3 separate regions of the Homo sapiens genome follow, and regions 2 and 3 are each linked to region 1. The links are contacts of gene promoters, found by promoter capture Hi-C in human tissues and cell types (Jung and others, 2019). All regions are on one chromosome and are shown on one strand. The core of a region is centred on a gene start or on the middle of the fragment in contact, and the rest is flanking DNA. Distances in the headings are between cores, read along the strand shown.

Evidence for each region. Contacts are between HindIII fragments. The study calls those that stand out against the background at their distance.
Region 2: a fragment that was not itself captured here is called in contact with the fragment with the promoter of SIX4 in region 1 in 2 of the 25 tissues and cell types used here (H1 embryonic stem cells and IMR-90 fibroblasts).
Region 3: a fragment that was not itself captured here is called in contact with the fragment with the promoter of SIX4 in region 1 in 2 of the 25 tissues and cell types used here (IMR-90 fibroblasts and adrenal gland).

Annotation. Positions count from the first base shown.
Region 1 is chr14:60,721,675-60,725,756 of GRCh38, forward strand. It overlaps SIX4 (SIX homeobox 4), which reads right to left and starts at 2,677. Exons shown (of 3, transcript NM_017420.5): 1 at 1,538-2,677. The coding sequence starts at 2,400. RefSeq lists silencers at 742-811, 2,090-2,159. The HindIII fragment of the contact is 7,845 bases long and covers 1-4,019 here.
Region 2 is chr14:60,633,320-60,637,405 of GRCh38, forward strand. No RefSeq gene overlaps it. Among named protein-coding and RNA genes, the nearest start is that of SALRNA1, 3.9 kb to the right of the region's middle. The HindIII fragment of the contact is 6,155 bases long and covers 1-4,086 here.
Region 3 is chr14:60,814,379-60,818,268 of GRCh38, forward strand. All of the region lies in intron 5 of MNAT1 (MNAT1 component of CDK activating kinase), which reads left to right. Among named protein-coding and RNA genes, the nearest start is that of MNAT1, 82 kb to the left of the region's middle. The HindIII fragment of the contact is 3,774 bases long and covers 1-3,440 here.

The DNA.
Region 1 (4,082 bases), core at 1,427-3,926:
GGGAGTCCCAGGGAGCGTGCCCGGCTCGCGAGCGGAGGCGGCGGAGCAGCTGGCCTGCTCGCGGTGCCCCCTTGCCACCCTCTGCCCCGGCCCTGCGGATTCCGTTGGTTTCCGAGCGCGGGATCCGCGGCCTCTAGTGGGCGCAGGGCAGGTGGCTCGGCGTAACCAAAGCGCCTTCTCTGGACCTCTCCGCATATCTGCGGAAGGCGCACGCACATCCCGGTGCACCTTTTGTTTTGGTTACCGCGAGGGCCGGATAGGGCACCAAGCCTCCCTCCCAGCCTTGGGCGAGGAACGCCGGAGCCCGAGCCGTCGGACCCCCACAGGGGCCCAGAAGCGGCAAGGGCGGGCTGAGACCGGCTCTGGAATGCGCTGGTGATCACCTTCACCTGGCGCAGGCGGGCTGGATCCCCGGCTCCCAGTTTGCTTCCCCGAGAAGAACCTTCGAGCTGCTTTTGGATTCTTTCTCTCCTATCCCCGCGGGGCTGGAGACACCAGGTCTTTAGGCGACCTTCTCCTTACTTTGTTTCGTCCAACAAAACACACAGACGCACACACCAAGTGTCTGACTCGGGAGGACGCACAAAAGAGGTGGAAAATCCGGTATTTTTTTTACCAGAGGGGGAAAGCAGTCTGCCAGGCAAAAAGCTCAAACCCAGTGGGGTGGGAGCGCCCCCACTCCTTTGCTGCCGCCCGCCGTAAGCCGGCCTGCCCCCCACCCATAACTACCGTACCAGGAGGGAGCCAAGCAGCGTTCGGGGGCCGAGGGAGGAAGCAGCCCTTCAGCCCTGCTACCCCGGCTGCGCTGAAACCCGATCCTAAGGAGTTCAGAATCAGGTTTCAAAACATGACAGAGCCGAGCTGCACCAGCACCCCACGTTGCCGCGGCCGCTAAGGGAACCATAGGGGCAGGGTGAATGATTAACTCTGTCATATGAAACCTCGACGTTCCGAGACCCCTTCTGCGCCGCCAGTCCCACAACACTCTCTTCCCTTCACCAGAGCAGCCACCGCGACCTCCAGCGCAGGCCCGGGGGGCGGCTGAACCCTGGGGATCCGGGAGCGTGCGCGCGCGCCAGGCCCGGTGTGACCTCGCGGAGGTGCAGACCCCGGCCGGCGCCGGCAGTCTCTGCGGGCCTCGGGCGGCAGGGAGAGCTACGGTGCCGGTGTCCACATTTGCTTCGTTAGCCCCTCCAGAAACGGGGAGAGGGTGGCAACTTCAAAGCCAGCGGGATGGGGGTGGGAAGCTGGGCAGCAGTGACCAGCCGAGGTGGGGGCGGGGACTGAGACCTAGGCGGGCGACCAGAAACTTCTGGGGGGAGAGGGGGAGGGTAAGGAGGGAGGTTCCCCCGCCCCCCGCCTCCGCCGCCCCCTACCTCTGCCGGCCGGGGAGCGAGGTAGGGGGCGGGGAGAGGTGGGCAGCCGGACCAGGCTGGTGGGGAAGGTAAGCGCCATGTTTGCGAGCACTTGGAGGAAAAGAAAGCCGGGAAGGGGGTGGGGGAGAGGAAGGGGGAGGAGGAGGAAAGTTGGCGCTCACCTTTTGGACTGGGTCTCGGAGGGGTTCCTGTCGCGCTGCCGGCGGTTCTTGAACCAGTTGCTGACCTGGGTGAGGGAGAGGCCGGTGATCTTGGCCAGGTGCCGCTTCTCGGCGGGCGAAGGGTAGCGATTCTGCTTGTAGAGCTCCTTGAGCGCGTTGCGCGACTTCTCCTTGAAACAATACACCGTCTCCTCGCCGTCCCAGATGGTGCGGGGCAGGGGGAATTTCCTGCGCAGCCGGTACTTGTCTACGGCTCCCAGCGGCCGGCCGCGGGCTCGCTCGGCCTCGGTGTAGCGCGCCTTGTACCAGAGCTGCTGCAGCAGCGGGTGGTTGGCCGACTCGAAGCTGTGGCTCTCGAGGATGCTGTAGAGCTCGGGGTAGATGCCCTGGTGGAAGGCCACGAGCGCCCGCGCCTTCAGCAGGCTCTCGTTGCCACGTAGCAGGTCGCTCTGGGGCAGGGACCACAGGAACCGGGCCAGGCGGTCCAGGTTGCCCCCCTGCTGCAGTGCCTCGCACACGCAGGCGACGTGGTCGGGCGAGAAGGCCAGCGGGGTCTGCGCGGCGGCGGCGGCGGCGTGGTGGTGCCTGCCCAGAAGTTCCGAGTGGAGTTGTACCTGATCCGCCGCCGCTCCGGCCGCCGCCGCCGCCACTGCCCCTTCCTCTCCGCTCACCCTGGCGGCAGCGGTCGCGGCGTCCCCCGGCTCCAGGGGAAAAGGGGCTGGAGCCGGGGGGCTCAGCCCTACCGCCGCGCCCCCCGCCACTTCTCGGTGCGCCTCCTGCCCTTCCGAGGCGCTTTCCATCCCATTCTCTTGCTTGATGTCCGCCGCACTTGCGATCTGCCCGGTGGGGGAGGAAGAGGACATTTTTTGTTGTTTATTTTCCTCCCTCCCTCACTCCCTCGCACTCTTTTCCTCTTTCTTTCCTCCTCTCTTACTCCTCCTCCTTCGTCTCCCTCCCTCCTCTCCCCCTCCGGAAAGCCCACTCCCTCCCTCCTGGTTTCGGCTGTATCTGGCCGATCAGGTTTCCCCCCGGCCACGCAGTCACCATTAAGATAGCTGTTAGAGCAAAGTAGTGTAAACGGATAGCTGCTTTCTGCCGTTCCCCCAACGTGACTCCTCCGGTTGCTGCATACTATATGGCAGTGGCGGCCGGGCCGGCCCGGCCTAGCCACCTCATTGGCTATTTCGCATTCAGAGGGAGGAGGAGACACAGTTTCTATCCCTGTCGATCACCCGCCTCCCACTCCACCCCTCGCCTTTCCCTCCCCTCCTGACCCCCAGGCACCTATACCTGAAGGAAAACACCGACATTCTTTCCAAGCCACGCTCCTGGGCGGGAAATTACCTAATGTGGCCTGAAAACTGGACAACTCTTTCAAACAGAGGCCCTACAATTCCAGAGGGAATATTAATTGTGTGGCCTTAAGGTCTGGATGGTTAAATTTTTAACAAAGAGACCACCCTCAGCATCTAGATGACAAAACTTCAGAGGACAATTCAGAAGCCCCCCAGTATGTCCCTGTTCCCCATTCTCCCTCTTTTTGGATGTCTTTATCAAGGATTTTGTATTCAAAACGGTCAAAAATAAAATGACACTAGGAAATGTTCTAAGGGGCAAGCATTTACAGTAAATTAAAATTCCAAAGAGGGAAAAATGCTTGAAAACCTTATAATTAGCAGCATAAATAGCACACTGAGAAGACAAAAACAAGAAGCCTTCAAAAAATGTACTTAACCTTAAGCCACGTGGAGGGCTGGCAACCCAACTGAGTTGAACATGGTATAATTAAACATGTAGAATATTAAACCATAAGTTTATCCTGGATGAGTCGTGTGGAAGAGATCTAAGCTTTAAATATGGAAATTTAAGTTTTCTACATGAACTTTTTAATGTAAGTATATGAGTATTTCTTTTTTAACGATGATAGGCTAGAAACACTGAATGTGCGGGTGTCATCCAGATCAGTGCAGGATCAGAAGCCCTTTTCCACAGCATAGACAGATTGCCCTCTGGTTTGATGCTGAAGTGGGGGTAGAGTCTTTTGTTGTTTGCAGTTGTGTCTCTTTCCTTTGTAATTTGCACAAGATCTTAATTCCAAAAGGGATGATCCATTTCTGCTTCTTTGATTACTGTAGGTCAGTTGGGTTTGCCTGCTGCTGCTCTTTCTCAAAATTCAACTTTTTTTCCCCCCGAGATGGAGTCTCGCTCTGTCGCCCAGGCTGGAGTGCAGTGGTGTGATCTCGGCTCACTGCAAGCTCCGCCTCCTGGGTTCACGCCATTCTCCTGCCTCAGCCTCCCGAGTAGCTGGGACTACAGGCGCCCGCCACCACGCCCAGCTAATTTTTTTTTTTTTTTTTTTTTTGTATTTTTTAGTAGAGACGGGGTTTCACCACGTTAGCCAGGATGGTCTCGATCTCCTGACCTCGTGATCCGTCCGCCTCGGCCTCTCAAAATTCAACATTTTAATGACATCATCCTAACCTTTGCTTCAGGGTGGCCTTGTATTGTGTATGCTTCCCAGCTACTCATAGCTGCCTACTTCAGC
Region 2 (4,086 bases), core at 612-3,111, 89 kb before region 1:
GTTTATTATCTATTTAAGGTAGTTATCCATATCAAAATCTTCATTGTCCTAAAGTTATACATGATCTAATAATAAAAAGGGGAAGAGATCACAAATTACAATATTTTTCATGAGCATGTTTTTACAGCAAGTTTGCCACCATAAAATGCTGAAAAGTTGAACTTTGAGAAATGAAGCTGATATTTCATTACATTCTCTGTTTAGCTCAGTTAACTAATGTTGAAATTTTTACTTTTTTTTTTTTTTTTGTGACGGAGTTTCACTCTGGTCACCCAGGCTGGAGTGCAATGGCAAAATCTCAACTCACTGCAACCTCCACCTCCCAGGTTCAAGTGATTCTCCTGCCTTAGCCTCCCAAGTAACTGGGATTACAGGCGCCTGCCACCATGCCCAGCTAATTTTTGTATTTTAGTAGAGATGGGGTTTCACCACGTTCACCAGGCTGGTCTCGAACTCCCAACCTCAGGTGACCCACCTGCCTCAGCTTCCCAAAGTGCTGGGATTACAGGCATGAGCCGCTGCGCCCAGCTGAAATTTTTACATTTTATTTGAAGTTGACTTAATTTTCCATTGTTTTGGGCTTTAATCAAAAGGAAAAAATATTTTTAACAGTTGACAGACCAGTCAGCTATCTGAGATTGACCTATAATTAAAATCATAAAATGTTATGCATCATGAAATATGCTGAAAACGTCTAGTATGTTATCTTCTAAGCACTCCATGAGGGCTAATTCATTTTACCTATAACTAATTTCCAGTAGAAAGAGAGTTACCATACTTCTGAGCATACTGACAAGTCTTTCAGTTTCATGAAGGCTAAGTGATTGAACAGGAACTACTATCTCGGCAGTTATATATATAAATTCTTTGAAGAAATTCTACAATTGAAGGGCCTAGATTTCCACAGTTATTTTATTTCACCATGATAGATCTGCTGAGTAGAAATAAGACTCCCCTCTTTATCCAGCCTTCAAGTTCAGTCATATATTTTTTTATTTGAAATGAACTAAAGCTGATTTAGAGCGGACATGCCTTTTGGAATGCCCTGAGGCCTTTCATTTCTTGAATGATATGCTAAGGTTTGGAATCTACCCAAACCTCCTCGAAGAACCCTCTGCAAAGTTTAATCTAATTTAAATTTACTTATTCCTCAGCATAAAGTGCTCTTTCTTATTTCTCTTTGTTTTTTCGAGTGAGCACATGGACATATTTTTGTGTTTCTAAACATTTGGATGCTGGAACAATATAAAAAGAAAAAATACTACATATTTTATTCTAGTCATGTTAAAAGTTGTGGCAGAAAAATATAATTCTTAGAACTCCTGGCCCTGGTATTATGCAAATCATTTCACAATATGCAAATAATTAAGCTGCAGTGTAATCACAGTTCCTACCAAATGTTTCTCCGATTATTAGACACATTCTTAAAAGTGATGGACCTGAAGTTTCACTTTATCTTCTATCCATTTCTGTGTACTGATTACATTTAAATCTTTGCTTTGCAAATAAAAGTAGTATTAGAACATGTATTTGCCAAAAATATGTGTGTAAACAAGTATAATTTTGCAGGCATAAAGCAGAGTATAAATATATAACAAGTCTTTAGGTAAATTATTAAACATGCATCTGCTGTTTCCAGCTCTACTTCCAGGAATTTGTGAGTGTAATACATAATTTTTTTTTTTTTTTGAGATGGAGTTTTGCTTTTGTTGCCCAGGCTGGAGTGCAATGGCATGATCTCAGGTGACTGCAACTTCCGCCTCCCAGGTTCAAGCGATTCTCCTGCCTCAGCCTCCCAAGTAGCTGGAATTACAGGCTGAGATGGGTGGATTACCTGAGGTCAGGAGTTCAAGACCAGAATTTTTTTATTATTACTATACTTTAAGTTTTAGGGTACATGTGCACAATGTGCAGGTTTGTTACATATGTATACATGTGCCATGTTGGTGTGCTGCACCCATTAACTTGTCATTTACATTAGGTATATCTCTTAATGCTATCCCTCCCCCCTCCCCCCACCCCAGAATTTTTTAAACAAACAAAAAAAAAGTGTTCAACTCTTTCTGAGCCTATATGGTGATTGACTACAAATTGATTAACTTCTCTAAATTTAAAATTTAAACATACACAGTTTTTAGTTGGCCAGGATACTTTTGAAGAAAATAAAGATGATGGAAGAACATGTAGTGTTAAACAACTAAATAAAAAATGGTTTTCCAGGCCAGGCTCAGTGGCTCATGCCTATAATTCCAGCACTTTGGGAGACTGAGGCAGAGGATTGCTTGATTCCAGGAGTTCAAGACCAGCCTGGACAACATAGTAAGACCTCATCTCTACAAAAAATAAAAATAAAAAACAAAATTAGCCACGCATGTAGTCCTAGCTACTTAGGAGGCTGAGGTGGGAGGACCATTTGAGCCTGTGAGCTCAAGGCTGCAGCAAGCCGTGATTGTGCCACTGCAGCAAGCCATGATCGTGCCACTACACTCTAGCCTAAGCAACAGAGTGAGAGCCTGTCAAAAAAAAAAAATCTTTCCAGTAGTAATAACAGTGAAATAACTGTGAAGGGATTGCAGTGCATGAGGATCCATCCTTAAAAACACCTACCACAGGCATACTCCACCTACTCTCTAGGTTTCATATCTACTTGTGCTGGGGTTGTTCCTCCTACCAATAGTTCTCTGGTTCTACCACTGCATCATTCTAGGGAGAAACAGTCCCCTTCCTGTTCCTCTCTCCCCGCTCCCACTTTTACCCAAGAAAATTTCAGCTATGCATTTTGCTTTCAATAATACCTGAATGAGAAAGTCCTTGAAATAAGAGAAGGATGTATTATATGTCAAAATGAGCTATTCATCCCTGGTGATCATTAGAGTGTCACAAGAGAAGAAATGTACCCAGGAGGGTCTTGCAAAATTTCAACTCTGGGAAATGTGTTCTATCTAAAGACTCTCCATCATTTCAGCAGCCCATTCATTTACTCAAAAATATTTATCAGGTGCCATTATATCCAGCACTGTGTTAACATCAGCAAGACATTAAATCTTAAAAGTAGTTTCTTATTCTACACTTATGTTGACACATTTAGGTGGGGCCTTAAATTCTCTACTCAGCTAAATGCTTTAGTTCTCTTCTAAGTAATTTGTCATTTTCCGTCACATTTAAGTGGGTTTTATTTTTTATCAATAGAATTCTACCATATATAATGACATTTACGTAAAAGTTCAAATCATGAGAAATAGCGATAGCAAAATCCAAGCATTACAGATTTAAATATTCTTCCGGAATTAAATTACTGGAGTTAAACTTCTAGATTCCAGACTCACAGTTTCAAGAACTAAATTTCAGCTTTGACTACCCTCAAAGTCTAATCAAGCCCTATGTCTTCATAGAATAACTTGCGTTTCTTTTCGTGATCCAGAAAAGGAGGAAATGGCCATAATCTGCCCTCACTACAAACTCTAGCATCACGGGAATTTTCCCAGGCGGCTTTGTGGCAGTCTAAGGAGGCTCCAAGCATGTTATAACTGCTATTCATTTAACGTCTATAGTGCCAAGCACTTTACATTCAAGACTTTGGCTAATTTTAAGCTTCCCTTGCAGTCTAAATATTGTAGTTCCTATTTTCCCGAAGAGGAAATCGAGGCTCAGAGATGTTAACTTGACTCAAACCAATGCAATTTGTGTGTGCCAGCGATGCATCTGTGACATTGCCCCATCAATTCTCTCCACAATGTGTTTGTACGTTTAAGAAAGAAAAAACAATCATCCGTGAAGGTTGAGGAGAGAGATGGGGGTTGATAATGTTGTCTGAGAAAGATTTCTGAACACAAGGGGAAATTTAAAAAGAAAATTCTGTAACAAAACAAACCAGTCGCAGCTGTTTGGGTTAAGGGGGAAAACTCGCCTTGAGGGGTCCTGGGTATACTTCCTCCTATCTACGGCTAGGCTGCGCCTGCATCAGGCGTGGTGATTGGCAGGCGCCTACGGCCCACGCAGAGATGGCCGCGTGGGGGTCGGAGCGCCAACTTCTCAGCTCCCCTTCTCCCATGACCCTCACCCCCCACACCATCTTCAGCCGCCCAC
Region 3 (3,890 bases), core at 304-2,803, 92 kb after region 1:
TGACTTCACAAACCGGAAAATCTTCCTCTCCAGGAAAGTCTTTTTGCATTCTTCTCTTTCCCTTTATGTTCATATAATTTATTTCCCTGAGGCTTTTGTGTTTGTGTGTGTGTGTGTGTATGCAGTGTTAATACACTTAACTTTCTTGTCTAGTTGATAATGCTATTATCCTATGATTGGGGAAAATATGTATATATGTGTTCTTCTACTGTGCTTTTGCCAAAAAAGCATTTAAGTCAGTTAACCAGGAGTAAAAAAAGAGAAAGCAAGATTACTTAAATTATAAGGAGGTGAGAAACTAAAGGAAAAATAAGGGTAAGGGCATTCATGAGGCTTAGATAGAAAACACTGTCATAAAACTCTATTTTCTATGACTGGAATGTGAATTTGGCTCTAAAAATGAGGACACCAGCATATTAAATAGAATAATGACGCCTTCCCTAGCAACTTTCATTAGTTCTTTCTTGAAACTATTAAGTGGCAGGTATGGCTTTAACAGTGAAATGACATGTTGTATTTTATATTTTTGTAGCTGTTTGGTGAGAAATTAAAAACTTTAAAAATGAATTAGTAAATTGATGTTACTAATTATTAGTATATAGTTACTAATTATAATTGTTTTATTGAAAGATTCTTCCCCTTATCATTTTATACAAAGAGTTACAGGCTCTTTTTTGGATAATGCTTCTCTTCTATATAATTAATTGAATTAATCCCAAATATAGAACTTTGATAGAAAATATGCTTTTAACATTTTATGTTCCATCTAATAAAAAAAGTTTTTAGATTTTATTTTGAGGTTAGCCAGCTTTGCATAACAATTATTCTTGCATATTCTTTTTCCCTTTTTTTTTTTGAGATGGAGTCTTGCTCTGTGCCCCAGCTGGAGTGCAGTGGCGTGATCTTGGCTCACTGCAACCTCTGCCTCCCTGGTTCAAGCAATTCTTTGCCTTAGCCTCCCGAGTAGCTAGGATTACAGGTGCCTGCCACCATGCCCAGCTAATTTTTTTGTATTTTTGGTAGAGATGGGGTTTCACCATCTTGGCCAGGCTGGTCATGAACTACTGACCTTGTGATCCACCCGCCTTGGCCTCCCAAAGTGCTGGGGTTACTGGTGTGAGCCACCGCGCCCAGCCGCATATTCTTTTAGTCTTTAAAGTACTGTTTTGCTGCCTCATTGAGCTGCTATTGACATGAAGCTCCCCTTTGATTCAGTGAGGCATGAAGCAAGATGTGAAACTACCATTGTTGTACATTGTGTGTAATCTGGAGTTAATATTGATTTTTGTGAGTTCTTTCTCCCACTTCCTGTTTTCTTCACCTGCAAGTCATTACTGCACATACTTTCCTCAGTGTTTAGATCATATAACATGATGATTAAATAATTCTTAGTAATTTACTGTATTCATTAGTGCAATTAATTACAACAGATTGGTTTAGAATACCACTGCAGTTTGAATTTCTGGTTTTCATTTTTAAACTTATTTTTAGATTTTGTTATGTTTATTTTTCAGTCTTTATACAATGTTATAAATGTTAAAATACTTTAAATTTTTATGACTAATGAATTCATTAAATTTATTTTTATCCTCTTGAATCCTTATTAACTAAGTAAAAGAACGTATTTCTTTTTCTGTATATGTTCATGTGTGAGATTTTGTTTAAAAAACAATAGCATTTGTAAATATGTCTAGAAGCTTAATTCTTATAATTAATCTCTGGACCTAATTTACACAAGTACTACTTATTAGAATTTTTTTCCTCCTGTTTTTGGTTCTGGTCTTTGTGCCAAAAGTCACTTTTTAACCTTTTAAAAAGTATTTGCATTATATTATACTGTATGTGACGGGATTTTAATGTTATGGTCTTAATGTTTATGGCTTAGTATTTGCAGTAATGTTGGCTAAAAGGTCCATTTATTTAATCCTAACTGTAAATTCAATTTTAAAAAAGTTTGGAAAAAGATTTTTAAACAGGTCCTGGCTTATTAAATCTTTTTATATTCCTGTTTGAAAATTCGCTTCAGTTTATGTCTTAAATTTTGTATGGGCTAATATTGTTGTCAAACGCAGTAGGTGATTTTTATTAGAAATATTGTTTGCCAGATGGCTTGCTTAAAGTCAGTTAAAATAATCTTTTAAAAATGGTCATTATAAAGCTTTTAATGAGTATTACAGGCAGTTCTTACTAAAATTTCTTTAAATATTAAACAGTGTGCCTTCAGGCAATTAATACAGGTTAGGGAACCTTTTAAGGTAAAATGTAATGCAAAGAATGAAATAACTTGAAAGGCTAAATCTGCATGTTAGATATTCCCCAGAGCATGCATGTTTCACATAGTTTATTTTACTCCATTAATATTTTTTGTTGTTGGAACTCCTACTTAATTCTAGTTTAACACTTAGTAAGGCTTCCAGGCTTCAAAATTTGAGTGCTAAAATAGAATAAAGTAGGTTGGAACTAAATTCTGTGCTTCAATATCAAAAGTGTTTTAGATCCTTAGAATGTTTGTTTTTATTAGATTTCAGCTGTTTACCAAGACACTTTAACATTCAGTTCCTTTTATGTGAATGTGAAACCAGGATTAAAACAAGCTAAAGTCTTGACTAGCAACTTTTTTTTTGAAGTTAATACGTTGCTTTTATGTAAGAATTTTTGCTTTTTAAAGGAAATACCAGTTAAAGAAGAGCACTTGAATTGATTTAGAGTATAAATTGAAAAGCAATACTTTTAACTTTTTAGCTAAGGAAATTTATTTTTCTTTTGTTAGTTTCTACATGTGAAAAGATAGAATAGCTTTTAAAAGATATTTTTTTGATCACAGCCCATTAAAAATGTTCTTTAATTTTATATTTTATTATAAAATTCTTAATGTAAATCTAGAATAGCTGCAAGGAATCTTAGCAATACAGTTACTCATGCATTACTAATGCTTTGGTGTAGAATATAAAAGGTATTCTAGTATATTCTCCTCGTACTATATTTCATCACTTTTCCTTCATTATTGTTAAAGCCAGGTCTTAATGATTTTGCTCCTTAATAAGTTTACATCTTATAAATAAATAAAATTTGTGTTCTTCCATTTACTATTAAAAGTTTTAAACTTTGTAACATTGCTCTTGCAAAACACTTCTATTATAAAATCTTGATGTGCAACTTTATTCTAGGACAATTCTATTGAATTAAGTTGCTTATTTGAGTTATTTCTATACTGTAACCTTAAACCAATTCCTTTAAGTCTGTTAATTAACCACATTTGTGCCTAAAAAATTATTAAGTTGCTAGATTTGGAAAGAAAATTAAAATCTGTATGTTTGCTTTGTGCTGTGAAATGTTAACAATAGAGTTTCTTCAGGATCAAATTCTGTGTAGTCACTATTTTAACATCTATAGCCTCTTTGAACAATATGTTTTAGCACATTATCCTGGTATAGGAGATAAAAATGTATTTGACCTTCATCTCTGTTTATGATACAGAAAATTCTCAATCTCTCTCTCTGCTTGTGTGTTTGTGTGTGTGTGTTTGTTTGTGTGTGTAGGAAAGAGAGAGAGAGATCTCTTCTTCCTCCTGGTACGTCCTTCTGCATATGTTTTTGGATTCTTATTTAACTGAAAACTCAGAAAGGAAAATGTCTGGATATCATTTAGTTTAGACCTTAACTCCACAGCACTTTAAAGATGTAAGAGGACTTCTTGTTAAACAGAATAAATAACAGTCTACATATAAAAATTAGTAATTTGCTTATGGTATTAAAATGTGTCTGAGTGCTTATAATTAATATATTAAAATGTTTAACTGTCATTTTGTTACTTAAGTTAGAAAACATAGACTTAAATTTTAAAAGTAAGTTAGTAAAGGAGAAAATAAATATACTTTTGGTTGTACTTAC